Linked DNA regions of Homo sapiens: region 1 is linked to region 2. The links are contacts of gene promoters, found by promoter capture Hi-C in human tissues and cell types (Jung and others, 2019). All regions are on one chromosome and are shown on one strand. The core of a region is centred on a gene start or on the middle of the fragment in contact, and the rest is flanking DNA. Distances in the headings are between cores, read along the strand shown. Region 1 overlaps LOC100996549 (a long non-coding RNA gene). Region 2 holds the start of KLF11 (KLF transcription factor 11).

Region 1 (3,052 bases), core at 288-2,787, 270 kb before region 2:
ATGCCCACATGCTGCCACTCTGACCTGTGGGTGGGGGCAGGCATGTGAGTGGGCTCTGAGTCTTGGCCTGAGCAGGTGCGTGGGTGTCCCCCCCGCACTCAAATGGGCAGCTGGAAAGGAAGGTCAGGCTCAGGTGCGCAGAGCACAGTGGCCCTGAGCGGGGGTGGTGGGCGTTGCCATGGAGATGACAGCCAGAGAGGCAGCACTGCAGGCGAGCTCCGTGTGGGCGGCTGCTGAGCCCGCAGATCCACAGATCTCAGGAGGGACTGGGCAGTGCTGGAGGCTCCAGGATGGGAGCGGGGGGGCTCTTGAGGTGGGGGTGAAGCTGAGGAGCTCTGGAATGGTCATGAATTTGTGGTCTTGGCTGGGAGCACAGACTATGGGGCCTCTGCCTCCCCCATCAGTGCCACTCACTCCCACTCCTGTCCCCCACCAGCAACTGTGCTGAGCTCACAGCCAAGGCAAAGCTATCAGGGAGGGCAAGCAGAGGCGGGGAGCTAAGGATCGTGGCTGGTTTTAGGAAAACGGCTGAGGAGGGTCTAGCTGATTCTCCCCACCTCCTGGCATCACCTGACCTCTCTTTCTTTTCCACTGGTCCCTCCTTTGCAGCCTAGTGGAATGGGAATCACAGAGGACTGGGAGTCAAACAGTAAATCAGGATGCCTGTCCCTGTCGACCAACTCTGGGACCATGAGCAACCTGCCCAGTGAATCTCAACCTGGGTCTTCACATCTGTGAAATGGGATGAGGAACCCTGATCGACCTACCTCCAGAGCTGCTGAGAAGGTCAAATGACTCTCAAGAAATTCAACTGGACAGACATGGACAGATGCTTACTATGCACCAGCACGCCGTGGCGCTCCAGGGACGGAGAGAAGTACACTCTTGCGGAGCTCACCAGTGAGTGGGTGGGAGACGAGCACGTGCAAACAAGACAGCTCGGATAAGCGCCAGGACTCAGCCTGTTCCAGCAGCTCCTGGGAGTGCCTGCTAAGGGCCAAGTACCGGGATACAGAGAGGCAAGAGCGGCAGAGGAGCCCAGGGACTGCATGGGATTCAAATCACGAAAGAGCAGCGGCCTCCCCCAGAGCAGCCCTCAAATGCATCCGTCTCATTCATCCTCATACACCGCCAGGTGGAGCCACTGAATGCTCTCCCCATTTTACAAGTGAGAAAGCTGTGATCAGAAAGAAACAGCTGTCCCAAGTGCAAACGAACCCTGGGAAGAGGTGGAGCTGGGATTTGACTCTTGTCTGGCAGGTCCCAGAGTCCCTGCTTTGGGCCACTGAGCTCAACTGCTTCTCCCGGCCTCACCCTTCCATGTGCCTATGGCCTCTGGGAGGGAGCTGCCTGGTGTCAAAGGCCCTCCCCTGCTCCCTGCCCCGGCCCTGGCCTGGGCTGTGGTCCCACCAGCCACTCACCCCTCCGCCTTCCCTGTTCTCTCCTCCTTGCCTGTCTTCAATAAGACGGTCCAGGGGCGTGGACAGATAGCACAGTGTCACAGAGCCCGACAGCACTGACATCGGCGTCCTACGCCACCACTTGCGAGCTGGGGCAAGGCCACGGAGCCTCTCTGAGCACTGTTTCCACGCTGCAGTCCACACACGGGCAGTGCAGGGCATGAGCCAGACCCTCAACACCTTCAGTGCTCGCGAGGCACTCTGCACCCCCAGTGCTTCCAGAAGGGGCCATCTGTCCCCTGTTTCCAGGCAGTGGAAGGTGGAGTCTAGCCTGGCAGGACAGGAGGCAGAGGCTGGGCCTTGTCTCCAGAGAAACCGGGGCTCAACTCCTGCCTCCTCCCTCACTCGCTGTGTGTCCTGGGGAAAGTCACAAGGCCTCTCTGAGTTTTGTTCCTGGGGCCTCCCACCCCAGGGTCCCAGACGGGATCCAGCAGGACCCGAGGTCCATGGGTCTGAGCTGGCAGGATCTGAGCTCAGAGACCTTGCCCCTCTCCAGAGGACCCCCACCCCTCCCAGCTCCTCTAGGTGGCCCCCTGGTAGCCTCCCGGGGCCCTGTGAATGGGGGAGGGGGAAGAAGGCGCTGTCACCTGGGTTTGAGGTGGAGGGCACTGGTGGATGGCAGAGGAAGCCTGTCTGGGCTGGGAGAGGGCACCCTATGGCTCCCCTCTCTGGGCCTGGCTCCCCCACTGCTGACAGCCTGGGCTGTGAACAGACCGGTGGGAGGGCCTGCACGGGGCGGGGGATGTGAGGCCAAGGCTGACCTAGGTCTCAGGCACAGCCTTACAGTGGGCAGCTTTGAGAAACCCAGTGAGAAGGGCCAGCTCTGGGCTCAGAGGCCAGGGAGGGCGTGGGAGAAACAGGCAGCGCCCCGCACTGGCTGGCATCTCTTGAGGTTTCTGTAGAAATGTTTGCTCCGGCAGGAAAAAAAAAATCTGTTGCCATGGTAACCTATGTCTTCCCTCCCCAGCTGAGTCCTCAGAGGGAAAATCATCTCAGAATTCCCAGGGATGAGTGGCCAGCTACACTTAGGGGAAGCTTCCCAAACCCAGGCCTCCCAGCAGGGTGAAGAAGCCACATTCGCTCAAACACTGGAGCCTCATTCATTCATTCATTCATTCATTCAACAATCACTGAGACTCTACGCCCCACCCTGTGCTGGGCCTGGGGATGTGGAAATTCATCCAACTCGGTCCCAGAACTCAAGGAGCTCAGACTCTGGTGGGAAGACAGGTGTGTAAGCGTGAAGCCATGGAGGTGGTGAGAGCTTTGACAGGGGATGGCAGAGTGCTGCAGAAGCACAAAGGGAAGGTGGGAGGGCTTCCTGGAGGAGGCCCGCTTTGGCTGGGTCTTTGGGCTGCTCTAGACCCTGGAAGCCCTTAGAGCCCAACCCCCTGCCTGGTGTTCCACCCATTTTACAGAGGAGAGCACTGAGGTCCAGATAGGGTGAATGACTTGCCAGGGTACAAGGAAATGAGTGACAATGTGCGGGTGGGGCTGATGTTCCTAAAAGGAAAGGCAGCTTCATATCCGACCTGAATAAATAATGTATTCTGGATTTTAATTATTTAAAAAGCCTCCATTTCACTGGTGTC
Region 2 (2,788 bases), core at 289-2,788:
CAGTGGGAGCCACTGAAAGGGTTAAAGACCCCTGGGGGTGCTGAGTGGGAAGAGGCTCTGGGAGCTGGAGTGGACGCAGGGAGACCAGTTATAAGGCGAATGCAGGAGTCCAGGCAAAAGAGAATATTCCAGTGTGTATCTTAAGACTTAACTTTTTACACACAGAACACCCTGCGCCCCTCTCAGAGCCTCCGGGGTCTTCATGCGAGCAGTTTATCACGGTTCTTTCGTCTTAAACCCTCTTACTATTTCAGCAAACACCCTCTCCTCAGCCTGGTCAACCCCTCTGCCCAACCCGAGTGGGCCCCGAAGGAACAAGTGGGGACCAGAGTCCTGCTCATGTGAGTGGTGGGGCCCAGCCCGTTCCCCTAAGACCAGAATTCTCTCGCTCAGAGCAAAGCCCCGGGGTGCCGGGATTCTCTCTCTGCTCCCGCTCCCTGGATGGAGCTTTTAAAAAAGGAGGATTCCTCACTGCGGCCTCTGCCCCTTGCACTGAGCGCCAACCCGCATCACAGCTCAGCAAAGGCGCGCGCAGTGAACAGACGGAGGAGGGGTGGCTCCTCGCTGAGCTGAAGGCTGCGGCGACGAAAATAAACAGCATGGTTCCTGCTCTCCACGAACCTGGCGCTGCAGACGTGGGCAAACCACACCAAGAGACGCGAGCAACCGAAATATAGGGAGAAAAAAAAAGGTGCCCTGGACAGCGGGCTAGATGTCTCCTGCAGGCTCGAGGACTTCCCGGAGGGGGCGGCGTTTTCTCGGGGCCTGGGAAGAATGGGCGGGTTTCAGCGGGCGCCTTCTGGGTGACTGCCCGTTTCGGCTTCCCCTGACCCCGTAACAGAGCGGAAGAGGCCCAGAGACGCCAGAGGAGGGGCGTCAGCGGGACACTCAGGCCAATAAGCTCTGACTCCCGCTGTCTGCAAAAATGACCGGATGCAGGAATGTCACCTAGAACCGGCCAGCTTTCCGACCTCTCCGGTCAAGGACGCATTCCTAAGAGACGAAGGGAGAATGACAGAAGTTAAAAACAACCAAACAAAAGCCAGGTTGAGGCCTCTAGGTGGGTCTCCGCTACCGATGGATTCAGCCGGTGGGGCTGCAGGAGGTTCCTATAAGCGTGGTCCCCTCTCCCCGCACCGAGTCCGGCCCCGGCCCTGGGATTTCCCCAGCCGCCGCCCCGCCCCCTCCGCCCCGCCGCCCCCGCCGCCCCGCCGCCCCCTCCGCCCCCGCCGCCCCCTCCGCCCCCGCCGCCCCCTCCGCCCCGCTTGCCCCTGGCGCCGCTGCGACCTTTCCCTTACTTTCCAGGGCCTCAGGCCCCGCCCCTCGCTCCGACCAAAACACGTGCCGCGTCCCGCCCTGCCCGATCACGCCGCGGCCAGGCTCCGATCACGCGGCCCCCCGCGGCGCTCATTGGCCGGCCGGGCACGAATTGGCTGGTGGTGGCCGGCCCCGCCCCGGCAGGGGCGCGGTGTATTTTGGTTCGCCTCCGCGCCCCGCCCCGCCAGCCGCTCCCTCCGCGGCCGCCCCGCCCCTCCCGCGCCGCGAGGGCCGCGCCGGGGCAGAGCCGCGCGGGCGGGCGAGGCGCGTGCCGGCCGCAGGAGCTCCGGGTTGCCGCCGCCGCCGCCGCCCGCAGCCCACGTGCGGCCGCTGCTGCGCCCGAGCTCACGCCCCGCGGCCGCTTTGTTGCTCCCGGCCGGCCTGCACGATGCACACGCCGGACTTCGCAGGCCCAGACGACGCGCGCGCAGTGAGTGGTGGGGCTGCCGCGGCGGGACTACTCGTCTGAGCGAGGGGCGAGGCGGGGGAAGTGGTGCGGCACTCGCGCGCCTGTAAATGCGGGAGGTGGGGCGTGCAGGGCTTCGCTGCGGCCGCGCCGGTAGGGGCCTGGGCGGGCTCCGGAGCCGGGCGGGGCGGCGGCCGCGACGGGCGCGCCCGGGTCGGCGGGGGCGAGGAGGGGGCGTGTTCCCCGCGCAGCTTTGTCTTGCGCTTCCTGGGCGGCCCCGCCCCGCTGGCCCCGCGGCTATTTCCAGCCATGACGTCACCCCGGTCCTGTGAGCCGGACGGCCGTTGGGCGGGGGAGCGGCTGGCGGGAACGCGGCACGCGGCCTTGGGGGCGGGGCAAGAGCTGCTGGCGGGAACGCGGCACGGTTTTGGGGGCGGGGCACGCGGCCGTCGGGCGGGTTAAGAGCGGCTAGCGGTAGTGCCGCTCGGGCCTGGGGGCGGGCAAGGTCTAGGGGCCGGGGCAACGACGGGAGGCGGGAGCGCCGCACTGCCTTGGAGGCGGGGCAACGCTTGGAGGCGGGAACGCGGCACGCGAGCGTTGGGGGCCCTAAGCGTCGCGACCTGGGGGCTTCGGGGAGGTAGCCGTGGACGTGGGCAGAGCGCGGGCCTCGTGGTGTGCGGGCACTGTGGGCCGGGCGAGCCCCTTCCCGCCCGTGTGGTGAGTCGGCCTCGGCGCCCGGTTCTGTGACATCACAGGGGGTTTAGTGGCGCAGCCTGCGGGACAGAGGCCGGGGATTTGAGGTGGCCTCGTCTTGTTTGATCTCGGGGAACCTCGGCAGACGGAAAGCTTTGATGCTTTGGTGCATGGCAGATAGAGAGGAAACGTGTATCTTCGTACATTTAAAGTTTCCTTTCCTTTTTTTTTTTTTTGATAGGGAGTCTCGCTCTATCGCCCAGGCCGGAGTGCAGTGGGCGCGCGATCTCGGCCCACTGTAACCTCCCTGGGAGGGAGGGGTATTACTCTTCTCAGAGTAATATCACCCTCTCGCCCCCGGCTTAGTTTTCT

The links. The method cuts DNA at HindIII sites, captures the fragments that hold promoters and counts their contacts. A contact is called where the count stands out against the background at its distance.
Region 1: a fragment that was not itself captured here is called in contact with the fragment with the promoter of KLF11 in region 2 in 3 of the 25 tissues and cell types used here (IMR-90 fibroblasts, mesendoderm cells and thymus).

The regions. Positions count from the first base shown.
Region 1 is chr2:9,769,432-9,772,483 of GRCh38, forward strand. All of the region lies in intron 2 of LOC100996549 (a long non-coding RNA gene), which reads right to left. Among named protein-coding and RNA genes, the nearest start is that of TAF1B, 73 kb to the right of the region's middle. RefSeq lists a silencer at 1-54 and enhancers at 757-1,685, 1,686-2,613. The HindIII fragment of the contact is 4,385 bases long and covers 1-3,052 here.
Region 2 is chr2:10,042,012-10,044,799 of GRCh38, forward strand. It overlaps KLF11 (KLF transcription factor 11), which reads left to right and starts at 1,539. Exons shown (of 4, transcript NM_003597.5): 1 at 1,539-1,747. The coding sequence starts at 1,706. KLF11-DT (KLF11 divergent transcript) reads right to left here and starts at 1,390. Exons shown (of 3, transcript NR_135558.1): 1 at 1,299-1,390; 2 at 622-993. RefSeq lists a promoter at 797-1,696 and silencers at 1,383-1,612, 1,903-1,952, 2,073-2,122, 2,163-2,232. The HindIII fragment of the contact is 11,158 bases long and covers 1-2,788 here.